Regions from separate parts of the Homo sapiens genome. Here regions 2 and 3 are each linked to region 1. The links are contacts of gene promoters, found by promoter capture Hi-C in human tissues and cell types (Jung and others, 2019). All regions are on one chromosome and are shown on one strand. The core of a region is centred on a gene start or on the middle of the fragment in contact, and the rest is flanking DNA. Distances in the headings are between cores, read along the strand shown.

The links. Contacts are between HindIII fragments. The study calls those that stand out against the background at their distance.
Region 2: a contact is called between the fragment with the promoter of SCGB3A1 here and a fragment that was not itself captured in region 1, in 1 of the 25 tissues and cell types used here (liver).
Region 3: the fragment with the promoter of TBC1D9B here is called in contact with a fragment that was not itself captured in region 1 in 1 of the 25 tissues and cell types used here (dorsolateral prefrontal cortex).

What each region holds. Positions count from the first base shown.
Region 1 is chr5:180,318,536-180,322,983 of GRCh38, reverse strand. GFPT2 (glutamine-fructose-6-phosphate transaminase 2) reads left to right here. Exons shown (of 19, transcript NM_005110.4): 10 at 4,028-4,191. Among named protein-coding and RNA genes, the nearest start is that of MAPK9, 29 kb to the right of the region's middle. The HindIII fragment of the contact is 5,502 bases long and covers 1-4,448 here.
Region 2 is chr5:180,589,867-180,594,647 of GRCh38, reverse strand. It overlaps SCGB3A1 (secretoglobin family 3A member 1), which reads left to right and starts at 3,149. Exons shown (of 3, transcript NM_052863.3): 1 at 3,149-3,237; 2 at 3,810-4,048; 3 at 4,394-4,543. The coding sequence starts at 3,186. The coding sequence ends at 4,417. LOC124901154 (a long non-coding RNA gene) reads right to left here and starts at 1,478. Exons shown (of 2, transcript XR_007059088.1): 1 at 1,439-1,478; 2 at 380-755. RefSeq lists enhancers at 2,948-3,617, 3,618-4,287, 4,288-4,781. The HindIII fragment of the contact is 36,128 bases long and covers 1-4,781 here.
Region 3 is chr5:179,905,271-179,909,616 of GRCh38, reverse strand. It overlaps TBC1D9B (TBC1 domain family member 9B), which reads left to right and starts at 1,720. Exons shown (of 21, transcript NM_015043.4): 1 at 1,720-1,913. The coding sequence starts at 1,796. RefSeq lists silencers at 1,569-1,728, 1,799-1,858, 1,869-2,008, 2,059-2,108 and an enhancer at 1,989-2,766. The HindIII fragment of the contact is 17,290 bases long and covers 1-4,346 here.

The sequences.
Region 1 (4,448 bases), core at 599-3,098:
GGCTCACTGCAAGCTCCGCCTCCTGGGTTCAAGTGATTCTCCTGCCTCAGCCTCTGAGTAGCTGGGACTACAGGTGCCCGCCACCACGCCCGGCTAATTTTTTGTATTTTTAGTAGAGATGGGGTTTCACTGTGTTAGCCAGGATTGTCTCCATCTCCTGACCTCATGATCCGCCCTCCTCAGCCTCCCAAAGTGCTGGGATTACAGGTGTGAGCCACCGCGCCCATCCAGATGTTTCTTTTTTTTTAAAAAAAAGGCATGAATGCCTGAAAGGAGAGGAAATAATTATTTGTAGGCAATACTATTACACATTTTTAAATCCAGCCAAAAGGCTGTTAGAACTGATAGTACTAGCAGCTGGGAGTAAAGGTGTGGAAATCCTATATCCTGGCCTTAGCCACTAAGCTGTATCTGGTTCAAGTGGGACCTTGTCCACCTTATTCTCAGGTGTCACCTCACGTGACCAGGCACGATGCAGTCAGCAAACGTTAGGTGAACCAAAAAAGCAATACTATTCACCACAGCTGGAAAAAAAAATGCTTTAGAGTAAATTTTAACAAAAATACTCTAGAACATATTTGGAGAAGTCTACAGAAATTTACCATGAGGAAGTAAGAGATTTGAATATAGGAAGAGATTCCACATTCCTCAGTAGGAAGGCTTACTATTCTTTTCTTTTTTTTTTTTTGAGACAGGGTCTCATTAAGTTGCCCAGGCTGTCCTCGAACTAACTCCTGGACTCAAGGGATCCTCCTGCCTCAGCTTCCAGAGTAGCTATTTTCAAAAATTAATGCACTCAACATTTAAAACTAATTTAATGATTACAAGTTATTTTTAAAAAATATTGACTCTACCCAAATTATTCTGTGAATTCTGTGCTGTAATTAAGACTGTCCAGGCCGGGCGTGGTGGCTCACGCCTGTCATCCCAGCACTTTGGGAGGCCGAGGCGGACAGATCATGAGATCAGGAGATCGAGACCATCCTGGCCAACACGGTGAAACCCGGTTTCTACTAAAAATACAAAAAAAAAATCAGCCGGGCGTGGTGGCGGAGGCCTGTAGTCCCAGCTACTCGGGAGGCTGAGGCAGGAGAATGGCGTGAACCCGGGAGGCGGAGCTTGCAGTGAGCCGAGATCGCGCCACTGCACTCCAGCCTGGGCAACAGAGCGAGACTCCGTCTCAAAACAAAACAAAACAAAACAAAACAAAACAAAACAAAACCCTCCATATTATTTTATTTGTTTATGCCTTTGGAACTTCAGGAAGTGATTCTGTCGCGTGTAGTGTAGAGATAAGAAAGACAACACATGCTGAGAAAGGAATGGCAGGTGGCCCTCCCAGATGTGAGCACACTGTCCAGCTTTTGGGCAACGGTGGCCAGTGTGTGCGGGGCACGGTATGAGAGCCTCACCAGGATCCCATGCGATAATCATGACAGACCTCTGGGGAAGGCACAGCTCTTTTCTGTTTACAGAGGCGGAACCTGAGACAGGAACTCCAGGGGGTTATGTATGTTGCCCACGGGCACAGGTCTGGCAAGTGACAGAGGCCCCGAGTCCACCTCAAGCCTAACTGGTGGGCCATTGGTTTTAATGACTAGATTACATGACTACCCATTTTGGAAATAAAATAATTATATTTAAACAAACATGTACATGCACACATAAATATAAACACACATGCGTCATGCATTGTTGGTTGGTTAATGCTACAATGGAAGCAGTGTTGATCTCTCGGAGACAGGATAGGGCCGTTTTTACTTCTTGTCACTCCATGTTTCTACTTTTTATACAAAAAAATATATTTCTATACAAAATTTTGTATAAAGCTCTGTATACTTTTATACAAAGCATACAAAGTTATTTGTACACTTTTATACAAAGCATACGAAGTTATTTGTACACTTTTATACAAAGCATACGAAGTTATTTGTACACTTTTATACAAAGCATACGAAGTTATTTGTACACTTTTATACAAAGCATACGAAGTTATTTGTATACTTTTATACAAAGTTTTGTTTAAAATATTTTTTCCAGTACAGTGGCTTGCCATCTTTCTTTCTCTTTCTTCCCTAGGATCTGGCTGGATATACGTCTTTTAGAGCCTTAGACCTTGATGGTTTCTCTCTTTACCTTTGCACCAGGAGTTTAAGTGTTCATTTTCAGGCAGTCACGTGTGGGTGTGGCTCTTGATAGAATGAGAGTGTTTTTTTTGAGACGGAGTCTTGCTCTGTCACCCAGGTTAGAGTGCAGTGGCACAATCTCAGCCCACTGCAGCCTCCGCCTCCTGGGTTCAAGTGATTCTCCTGCCTCCCAAGTAGCTGGGATTACAGGTGCCCGCCACCACACCTGGCTAATTTTTGTATTTTTAGTAGAGACGGGGTTTTGCCATGTTGGCCAGGCTGGTCTCAAACTCCTGACCTCAGGTGATCTTCCCGCCTTGGTCTCCCAAAGTGCTAGGATTACAGGTGTGAGCCAGGGCTCCCGGCCGAGAGTGTTTTCTCCAGTAGTCCTTCAAGCCCAACCTGATGGTTTATACCACAACTATATACCATTAATCACCTTTCTTTTTCATTTAGCAACTTTTCAAACTTAAAATGATTTTAAAAGATACTTTGTATTATGATCTCAAGGGAAAAAAATCATTATTCTTTTCCATACAGAGAAAGTTATAAAAATAAACACAATGGGCTGGGCACGGTGGCTCACACCTGTAATCCCAGCACTTTGGGAGGCCGAGGCGGGCGGATCACGAGGTCAGGAGATCGAGACCATCCTGGCTAACACGGTGAAACCCCGTCTCTCCTAAAAATACAAAAAAGTAGCCGGGCATGGTGTCGGGCACCTGTAGTCCCAGCTACTCGGGAGGCTGAGGCAGGAGAATGGCGTGAACCCGGGAGGCAGAGCTTGCAGTGAGTGGAGATCGCGCCACTGCACTCCAGCCTGGGCGACAGAGCGAGACTCTGTCTCAAAATAAATAAATAAATAAACACAATGACCCTATGTTTCTTTGGTAAGCATAGCTTGTAGACTACTTTTAGGGCTCCTTTGTGTATGTGTGTGTGTGTGTAAGAAACTAGGTCTTTTGTCCTGATGAGTTTCCCATTGTCTGGGTTTTGCTGAGTGCAACCCCTGGTGTCATTTACCATCTTCCTCTGTCCCCTGTGTTTCCTGTACGCTGGAGTTTACAAGTGTTAAAAGCTCGATCTTATTCAGGTTTGATTTTTTTTGGCAAGACTACATAGTTGGTGGTGTGTCCTTCCATCAGGAGGCGGGTGATGTCTCACCATCTCTCTTTTTGTGCTAAGAGCCATCAGGGGTTTGAGTGTTGCCAGCCTTATCCATCCATGATAAAGCTTCGTCCAGCTTTTTACCTTCTGGTTTCAACAGCCATGAATGGTCCTTGATTAGAGCTATTAATAATTAGGAGTTCATAAATTGATTCTTCTATTATTTCTTCATTACTAGCTGTATCACTTCTTAGAGAAACTTGCCTTCATAAAGTATGTGGTTGTTCTGAAAGACAGATTGTTTAGAAAGGCGAGATAAATGCTTTATTCTTTCCCTTCACGATTCAGAATAATGTGTTGGTTCTCGAGTATCTTCCAGAGGTGACATTGTTTGGATCCTGATTTGAAGAAACCGGTTATAAAAAGACAGCCGTGAGATTATTGGAGATATGTAAACATGCTGAATATTTGATGATATAAAGGAACAACTATTCATTTTAGATATGATTATGGTATTATAGTAGGTTAAAATAGTTTTAGAGCTCTATGGTAAAGTGTTTACAGAAGAAATGATATAATGTCTGGGACTGGCTTCAAAATAATTCCGTGGGGACAGGAGGGAAGAGTGGAGAAGAAAAGGAAGATTCACCTGCAAATCAATGTTTTTAGTGTGGTCTCTCTGTCCCTCCTAAAATGCCAACGATGTGGCCTCCACGCTTGGGAACCAGCAAGGGGCTGCTGCCTCGTAACTGCTCAGGGCAGGGCACTGATGATGCCTGTTTCCCTTGCCCCAGCGCTATCATAGAGCACACCAACCGGGTCATCTTCCTGGAGGACGATGACATCGCCGCAGTGGCTGATGGGAAACTCTCCATTCACCGGGTCAAGCGCTCGGCCAGTGATGACCCATCTCGAGCCATCCAGACCTTGCAGATGGAACTGCAGCAAATCATGAAAGGCAGGTGTCCTCCAGAGTCCACGTGCGGCAGCCTCGGGAGCCAGCGCGCCTGGTGGAGCTCCTGACACTCTGCCTGGTCCTAGTAGAGGCCACAGCCCTCCTGCCCTCTGTGGCCACCAGGGCGGGGCTGCAGGTAGCCTGTGGCTTGCACAGGTGAGGGGATGTGGGGAGGCTGGCCTGGCACCTCCAAGCGGGGGCTCCTGTGTGCAGCCAGCCGCCAGGTCTTTCCTACTGGAACTGAGCCCAGTGTGTCAGCT
Region 2 (4,781 bases), core at 1,900-4,399, 270 kb before region 1:
CTGGAGGAGGAGCGGCCCCCGACGCCTCGCCTTCACCCCCGTGACACTGCACTTCTGGGCTCCAGAACTGCGAGCGGAGTAAATGTGTTGTTTTCAGCCACCAGGTATGTGGTGACTTGTCACAGCAGCCTCAGGAAATGAATACAGAGGCAGCCGCTGACCCAGCTGTGCAGGTCTCGGCACAGGCCAGACCCTCGGCCTGCCTGATCCCCAACTACCGCAGAGGCTTCGCCAGCCGTGGCCCCCAGAGCCAGTGTGGGGTGAGGGGCTGGGCCAGCCTGAGGTGAGTCCTGGCTTGCCTTGACCATGGCAGCTCGGGAGAGGAGAGCACATCCTTTGGCCCTGTCAGTGGTGAAACGGAGACACCGTGACACACTTCTCCGGGGAGCCAGGGGATGTATTTTTGGAATCCGAAATCTTGGGGCACATGGGAATGAGGGCCTGTCACCACCCTGCAGGCTTGTGGGAAATGGGAACAGATCCACCCAAGGCACTATGAGCCGGAAGGTGGAGGGAGGTTATTTTGAAGACAAAGGATCCCTGGAGGCAGGTGCAAGGGGCCGCTGGAGTGGCCAGGACCCCAAGCGCTGCTGGGGACCCACAGATGACGGCCTCCCCCTCCTCCTGGCCTCGGCAGCATCGGTCTTTCCCGCGGTCAGTGTTCTCTGGTCCCCAGGCAGCATGGGGAAAGGTGGCCCCAAAGTCAGCTCCCAAGATGCGCCCACTGGGATTGCTTGGGCCAAGGCTGCCAGATCCTGCTCAGGAGAAGAACAAGCATCATGAGGTTGTGGACACACTGGGATCCTTGTGCATTGTTGCTGGGAAGGCAGCGTGGTGCCGCTGCTATGGGAGAGATGGCAGATCCTCACAAATGACACAGGCAAGTTCCACAGGCTCCAGCCATTCTACCTCTGAGCAGCCACCCAAAACAGCCAACAGCAGGGTCCCAAAGAGGCATTTGCACAGCCGTGTTCACGGCCGCATTACTCACAGCAGTGAAAACATGCAAGCGCCCACATGTCCACCCACGGGTGAAGTGAATGGGTGAAGAAAACGTGGCACAGCCATGCAATGGAGCAGTATCCTACCCTAAGAAGGAAGGAAACTCTGAAGGTCATGAATGAACCTGGAGGATATCATGCTAAGTGAAATACGCCAGACACAAAAGACAAACACTGCCCGATTCCACTCATATGAGGTGCCGGGAGTGGCCAGATTCAGAGACAGAAAGTGGAATGGTGGTGCCAAGGGCTTGGGGAGGGGAGTGGGGAGTTGTTTAATAGGCTCAGAGTTTCAGTTTTATAAGAGGAAAAGAGTTCTGGAAATGGATTGTGGTGATGTTTGCACAACATTAGAATATACTTAATGCTAATGGAGTGTGCCCTTAAGATGGTGAAGCTGGGCTGTGCGGGGTGGCTCACACGTGTCATCACAGCACCTTGGGAGTCTGAGGCGGGAGGATTGCTTCAGGCCAGGATTTTGAGACCAGCTTGGTCAATGTAGCGAGACCCCATCTCTAGAAAAAATAAAAATAAATCAAGCCAGGCGTGGTGGCTCACACCTGTAATCCCAGCACTTTGGGAGGCTGAGGCAAGAGTATCACTTGAGGCTAAGAGTTCAAGACCAGTCTGGGCAACACAGTGAGACTTTGTCTCTACAAAAAATAAACAAAATTAGCTGGACATAGTGGTGCACACCTATAGCCCCACCTGCTTGGGAGGCTGAGGTGGGAGAATTGCTTGAGCCTGGGAGGTGGAGGCTGCAGTGAACCAAGATCACCTCACTACACTCCAGCCTGGGCGACAGAGTGAGACTGTCTCAAAAAACAAACAAACAAAAAACAAAATCAAAATCCGCTGAGTGTGGTGGCTCACACCTCTAGTCCCAGCTACTTGGGAGTCTGAGGTGGGAGGATTGCTTGAGCTCAGGAGTTCGAGACCAGCCTGGGCAACACGGCAAGACAGTGTCTTTACCACCACCAAAAAAGTAATTAACTTCAAACTGTTTTTAAAAAAGAAAACGTATTTCCCATTAAAATTACTTCCATGATGACCAACAAAACACAACCAAACTCCAGATTTATAATGCAAAAATCCCCCAAACAAAATAGTCAAGGAAAAGTGTAAGTGAACAGAAACAGTGTGAATGCGTGTGCCTGGCCACAACAGTTGGCAAAGGCACAAGTGTCTGCAGGTGCGGAGGAGGCCGCAGTAGCTCGGGGTGGCTGAGGGCTAAGACGTGCTGTCAGCCATAGGGAAGGAATTCCAGGACACTGCCTGAAGAGTCAGGTCCTCCCACCCGGGAGCCTGTTTCCCACGCGTGCCAGCTACACTTTACAAAAGAAAAGAGAGACTTTGCACCAACCTAGCTGAGAGCAGCCACGCAGCAAAACGTGAGTCACTCAGTGCTCAATGCCTGGGGTCAAAAAATAGAGGAAAGAAGAAGGACTAAAAGCAAATTAGTTTATGTATCATTTGCAAAAGTTTTCAAAATGTGCTTTGCTCTCCATCTGTCATACTTCTGCAGGTGACAGACGAGTGAGGACATTTAGAGAAACTCAGGAACAAACCAGGCCCATCCACTGGCGTCGAGGCTAGTTTCGAAGACAGAAAAACGCCCCACTTCTGTTTGCACTGTGGCTGCCTGTGGCCCGGCCGGGGAGGCGGCCGGGAGTGAGGCCTGATCGTCCCTGGCGCCTCCACCTCCCCAGGCGCAGAAGGCGCCCACGAGGACCCCCAGTGCCCGACGTTGCCACGGTCTGGGATCAGAGGCAGGGACCAGGGAGCCAGGAACTGCGCCGCCCCCGCCCCTGCCCTGGCGCGAGGGAAGCTCCCCTCACCCGGGCCCAGCCCTGCAGGGGGGCGCGTGGGGTCAGACCGCAAAGCGAAGGTGCGGGCCGGGGTGGGCCTCGCGGAGACAAAGGCCGGGCCTGCCTGCTCTCAGAGGGCCCCAGCGCCTGCCAAGAGGAAGTCCTCGAGGCCCGGGCAGGGAAGGGGGCACGGGCTTCCCAGGGCCCGCCGGCCGCAGCAGGAAGTTGGCCAGGGCACGGCCGTGAGCGGAGCGGGCAGGGCTTTCTCAGGAGCGCGGGCGAGGCCGGCGCTGGAGGGGCGAGGACCGGGTATAAGAAGCCTCGTGGCCTTGCCCGGGCAGCCGCAGGTTCCCCGCGCGCCCCGAGCCCCCGCGCCATGAAGCTCGCCGCCCTCCTGGGGCTCTGCGTGGCCCTGTCCTGCAGCTCCGGTGAGCGCCCCGGGCTCCTGGCGCGCACGGTGGGGCCTGAGGCCTCGGCGCCCGCTGCGCCCCCGCCGCTGCCTGCGCCGATCGTGGATCCCAGGTCCTTCCAGCCTCGCCCGGCGCCCAGAGGGCTCCGCCACCCCGGGGCCCCGCGCCTGCAGCCCGCGGCCTCCCCCTCTCAGGGCTGTCTCCAGCCTCGTGCCGGGATGGAGGCCGCCCCTGGCCTGGGGACACCCGTCTGCCCCCCGTCTGGAGACCGGCTCCTCATCCTGCAAGGCGCAGCGCGAGTGTCCCCTCCCTTGGGGGCCTGTCCCGGACCCTGCACAGAGTTCACCGGTCCTTCCGCCACCCTCAGGCCACTCCGGTGACCCTGCAGCGTCTCCTGGCGGGGCCGCCTCCCCAGACCCGCCTGTGTCCCGGGGGCTCGCACCTGGCAGGCCTCGGCGCAGGAGGGAGGGGCGGTCGGGGAGCCGGGCAGGGCGCGACGGTTCCTGGGCGCCTCCCGCGGGGGCGCGTCCTGGACCTGCCTTCTGGGGACCCCGGCGCGCAGGCGGTGACCCCTCCCTGTTCGCTTGCAGCTGCTGCTTTCTTAGTGGGCTCGGCCAAGCCTGTGGCCCAGCCTGTCGCTGCGCTGGAGTCGGCGGCGGAGGCCGGGGCCGGGACCCTGGCCAACCCCCTCGGCACCCTCAACCCGCTGAAGCTCCTGCTGAGCAGCCTGGGCATCCCCGTGAACCACCTCATAGAGGGCTCCCAGAAGTGTGTGGCTGAGCTGGGTCCCCAGGCCGTGGGGGCCGTGAAGGCCCTGAAGGCCCTGCTGGTAAAGTGGGCACCCCGGGTGCCCTTCCTGCGCGGGCATCCCTTCCCGGCCAGCCTCAAAACTGCACCAGAGGTGTCCCGGCCCTACGTCAGGGCTGTTTCCCGTCCTGCCCCTCCAAGCCCTGTCCCTGGGAGAAGCCCGGGTCTCCGGGTGGGAACTGGGTGGGGCGCATCCGAGCTGCAGGGGCGGGGAAGGCGGAGATGGCCCCGCGCGGGTGCGCGTCCCCCGGAGACGCCAGCGGAACCGCCCCGCTCCCGCTCCCCACAGAGCCGGCCGCTGCCGCGCCCCCGCCTGAGTTCTTGGTGGCAGGGCTGGGGGCACTCAAGCTCGGCTTCTGCTTTCCAGGGGGCCCTGACAGTGTTTGGCTGAGCCGAGACTGGAGCATCTACACCTGAGGACAAGACGCTGCCCACCCGCGAGGGCTGAAAACCCCGCCGCGGGGAGGACCGTCCATCCCCTTCCCCCGGCCCCTCTCAATAAACGTGGTTAAGAGCAGCTCGAGCCTGGTATTTTCTCATCCAAATGCTGATCCCTGTGGGGGACCGAGAGTGCCAAGTCCCAGATTTTGTGAGGGGTGCTGCGTGAGAGAGGGAGAGAGAGGCCGCGAGAGTCTGCAGGTGGCATAGAGCCAGCAGTGCAAGGTGACAGAGATGGGGCCAGTATCAGAGGTAAACCGGATTTGGAAACAAAACTGGCAGGTCTTTCTTCCTGTTGTGCTCTGTAACTGTTTATG
Region 3 (4,346 bases), core at 471-2,970, 410 kb after region 1:
ATACTAAGTGATCGATAAATGTTTGTTCTTTTTCTTCTTATAAAAAACCATTCTCGAGGAGTGGTCTCCAGGTCAGCAGCATCAACATCACCTAGGAACGAGTTAGCAGTGCAAACACCCTGGGAGGGAGGGGGCAGCAACCTGTGTGGCTGTTTTTTGTTTTGTTTTGTTTTCAGATGGAGTCTTGCTATATTGCCCTGGCCGATTTTGAACTCCTGGCCTCAAGTGATCCTACCACCTCAGCCTCCCAAGTGGCTGGGACTACAGCAGCCTGTTTGAATCAGCCTTCCAGGTGATCCTAATGTATACCCAATTTGAGAACCACTGGGATTAAGGAACAAGACGACTCTTTACCTCCTCTCAGGGTGTTAAAAAGTGCAGTTCTTCCAAATTCTTTCCCTCTAGAGAGCACAATGACAATATTAGTTCAGACTTCCAAGGTGTTGAAGAAAGCCCGCCTCTGCATCTTGAAAGCTGATTCCTATATCCAGCAACATTGAAGAAGACTGCAGATCACTCTGGGTGTCAACTGCATGTACCTACATCCATCGCACCAAGATTCTTGAGTGCCAATCACAGAAACCCACCTGGAAGTCAGGTCCAGCTCCAAGGATGGTTTAACTGCCCCCTTCCCTTTGCCCTCTAGCCAGACCCTGGTGAGGGTTCCAGCCAGCAGGGTGACCCCACATCCCAGTCGACCCCGGACAGGCCCCAGGCCCGTTGTCCCAGGTGGAGTTGACAGCCCCCTCATGCAGAAGGCTGTGTGTGGACTGGCGCTGCCCCTGCAGGCCAACACTGGGAGACCAGGGACCCGCATTCGCCTGCAGCCAGCCTCACACTTGCGCAGAAGCCGCCACTGGGCCCAGGGCCAGTCCAGACCCCATCCCCAGGGCCGGCCAGCCTCTGTGACCCGTCTGTCAGGGGAGGGGCAGCACTGATTTCCAAGGATGCAGCCCGTATCAGGGCCTCCTGGCACCTGCCCTGCGCTGGAAGATTCTTCTAGTCTCCCGGCCCCAGTGTCAGAATTCTGAGAACTGGCCGGGCGCGATGGTTCACTCCTGTAATCCCAGGACTTGGGAGGCCAATGTAGGCGGATCACCCGAGGTCAGGAGTTCGAGACCAGCCTGGCCAACATGGTGAAACCCCGTCTCTACTAAAAATACAAAAAAATTAGCCGGGCGTGTTGGCGGGAGCCTGTAATCCCAGCTAAAGAGGCTGGGGCAGGAGAATCACTTGAACCCGGGAGGCAGAGGTTGCAGTGAGCTGAGATTGCGCCACTGCACTCCAGCCTGGGCGACACAGCAAGACTCTGTCGAAAAAAAAAAAAGAAAAGAAAGCTGAGAATTAGGAGGAACTGCAAACCCTTTCCAGGCGCCCTTTGCAGTGCTAACACGCCCCGGGTTGCACGCGCAACCAGCCAAAAGCCGCCAAACTCTGCTTCTTGACATCCTTCTCTCACACTGCACAGCTTTCAAAACGCCAGAAGCCCTGCTCTGCACAGCGGCTCCCCTGTCTGCGGACTGGGCCGTTCCGTTCTGGACCCAGGCCGGAGGCCGTGGGCTGCACCGCTCCAGGAGGCCAGGCTGGCGCGCGCCCGAGGCCGGGGCTGAGGGGGCGGCGCGGAACTCGGGCCGCGTGCGGGAGCGCCACACGCCCGCCAGGGGGCGCCGCCCGCCCGGCCCCGCCCCGCCCCGGCCCGCTCCGCACGCTCCGCTCCGCACGCTCCGCTCCGGGACGCCGACGGCGGCGGGCGCTTCCGTCTCGCGGGCCTCGGCCCGGTGCGAGCGGCTCCGCGATGTGGCTGAGCCCGGAGGAGGTGCTGGTGGCCAATGCGCTGTGGGTGACGGAGCGGGCCAACCCCTTCTTCGTGCTGCAGCGACGCCGGGGCCACGGCAGGGGCGGCGGCCTTACGGGTGAGAGGCGCGCGGGCGGCCGGGCCTGTGGGCGCCGCGGCTGGGCTGGCGGCGGGGCTGGCGGCGGGCGGCGGGCGGGTCCGGTTCCGGCCCGGCCTCGGCGCGTCGCGGCGGACACGCACGCCAGCGCGCGGCGGGGCGGGGGCGCGAGGCCAGGACCCGGGAGCCGGGCGCGGAGGGGCCGGGGCGGGGAGGCGAGGGGCTGGCGGGAGGCGAATGCGCCCTCGGCGGGCTCTCCTCAGGTCGGCTTGGGGCGGCCAAGTGGAGACCGGCGGCGGCTTCTGCCCGGATTCGGCGCCCGCGAGCCCCGGGGGCCGTGCAGCTTCCCGGGATCTCACCGCCGAAAGTTGGCGAGACCGCCCTGTCCTCATCCTCCACCTCAGTTTCCCCAGGTGCCTCTAAGGGGCCAGGTGACGCCAGCGCACGTTTTCTTTTGCCCTCTTCTTCGTGCCCATCTCACCAAAGTATCGCCCTTTTAGCAAGATCAGAGGTCCCTGGAGCTGGCCGCACCCCCATTCCCCCAGCTTCTCCTCCCCCACCTTTCCTGCTCCTGGCTGCTCTCAGAGCTGCGCACCCAAGGCTGTGGGTAGCGGCACAGGGTGTTCCTGCAAGCTCGCCAAGGTGGCCCTTTGTGGGCCCGGGTGCCACCATCACACAGGATGAAGCTGGACAGGCACCCTTGGAGTCGTGCGGCCTGTGGGATCCAGGGGAGGCCCACAGGCCACTCCCTCCGCAGGTGGTGTCCGGGGCCCCTCATGCTCCAGGGCCTGCGCCCAGCACTGCAGGAGCCCGGCTGGCTCGGGCTCAGTGCCTGTGCTCTTCGGGGCACCGACTGTTGCCCTACAGGATTGCGGTCCCAGTGTTGCCAGGTCGTCCAGTTTATCAAGAGCATTTTCTGTGAATCATCCTGATTTTCAGTGTGAGCAGCTAATAGCCAGATGCAGACGGAGGCTTCTCCTGGGCCACGTTTCTTCATGTGGAAGAGACTGTTCTGTTCCCAGAAACACTCAGTGTTCCCTTCAGCTTCGGGTTCCCTCCCAGTGGGCTTCAAGGATCTCGGGCTCCTGTTCTGGACCCGCCTCCTAGATCCAGCTGTTCAGTCGGCAGCCCCTGTGGCTAACCTCGAAGCTACTGCAAGCCCGATGAAGAAAGCGAGGGACCGGCACCTTTTCTTCCGCCAGCGCGCCAGGGTGTCATCAGCGCGCCAGTGTGTCATATTCGCTGGTGTACTTGAAACACTTGTGCTGTGCTCGGCAGGCTTATGTGGGTCGTCTCATTGAACGGGCGGGTGCAGGTGCAGCCCGGTCTCTGTACACCTCCTTCCTGCGGGCTCTTCTCCTTTCCACCTCACTCTCCGTGTCCCCTGGGACCGAGCTCCCAGGGTCCCCCCAAGGGAACCCTTCTTTGAACCCTCTCCCAATCTCTCCCCACTGCTAGGTTTGGTGTGTCCTGCTGTGCCCTCTGACAGGGCCTTCCCTGTGCCATCATGGGCATCGTGGCCTCCTGAGTACTGTCCTCCCTGAAGAGGAGCAGACAGGGATGTGGTTTTATCCAAGCCATCTATTAAAAACATGCCAACCTAGACTTTTCATTAAAGAATCTGAATAGCTAGCTTGGCCAACATGGCAAAACCCCGTCTCTACTAAAAATATAAAATTTATCCAGGCATGGTGGCACGCGCCTGTTATCCCAGCTACTCGGGAGGCTGAGGCACGAGAATCGCTTGAACCCAGGAGGTCAAGGTTGCAGTGAGCCGAGATGGCGCCATTGCACTCCACCTTGGGCGACAGAGCGAGACTATCTCAAAAAAGTATTAATGGACTATGAAACAAAAGTGTTAAAGTTGAATAACAGCAATAAAAATTGTTCTGACATCAACAGGAAAAATGGTAACAAAATATTTTCAGATCATGCCAAAAGCAGCACTTCGTTAAAAGGAAGAAAAAATTTCAAGTAAAAACAATAAACAGGTTTTTAGATTGCTCGATAATTCAATTAGTGAATCAAACAATGATAAAAGCTATATATTTCCTGCTGATTTGTCAGGAAATAGTGACACTGACAAAGATAGCATTACCTAAAATATAAAAGCAAAGATAGCGTTGCCACAGACTGCTTAATGTGTGTCATCTATCAAAGGGGTATATGTGATGAGAAGAAAAACTTGAAATGCCCTCAAATGTTTCAGTTCAGAAATGAAAAAACTTTATATTTTCCCAAATTTGACAATTCTAAAGATCGACTTCTTCAGTTATGATTTTTTGAGGCTAAAAGAAACTTCCTTAAACTGTCGGTAATAAAAAATCAGTGAGTCATGGCAAAGGGGAGACATTATCTTTCTGTTCTTGATATGGAAAATAATGTTGCAGAATCATTGTCCTGTGTGTGAAGAAGCGATGAGTACAGGACCAGAACTGTCCGGAAGACGTATTT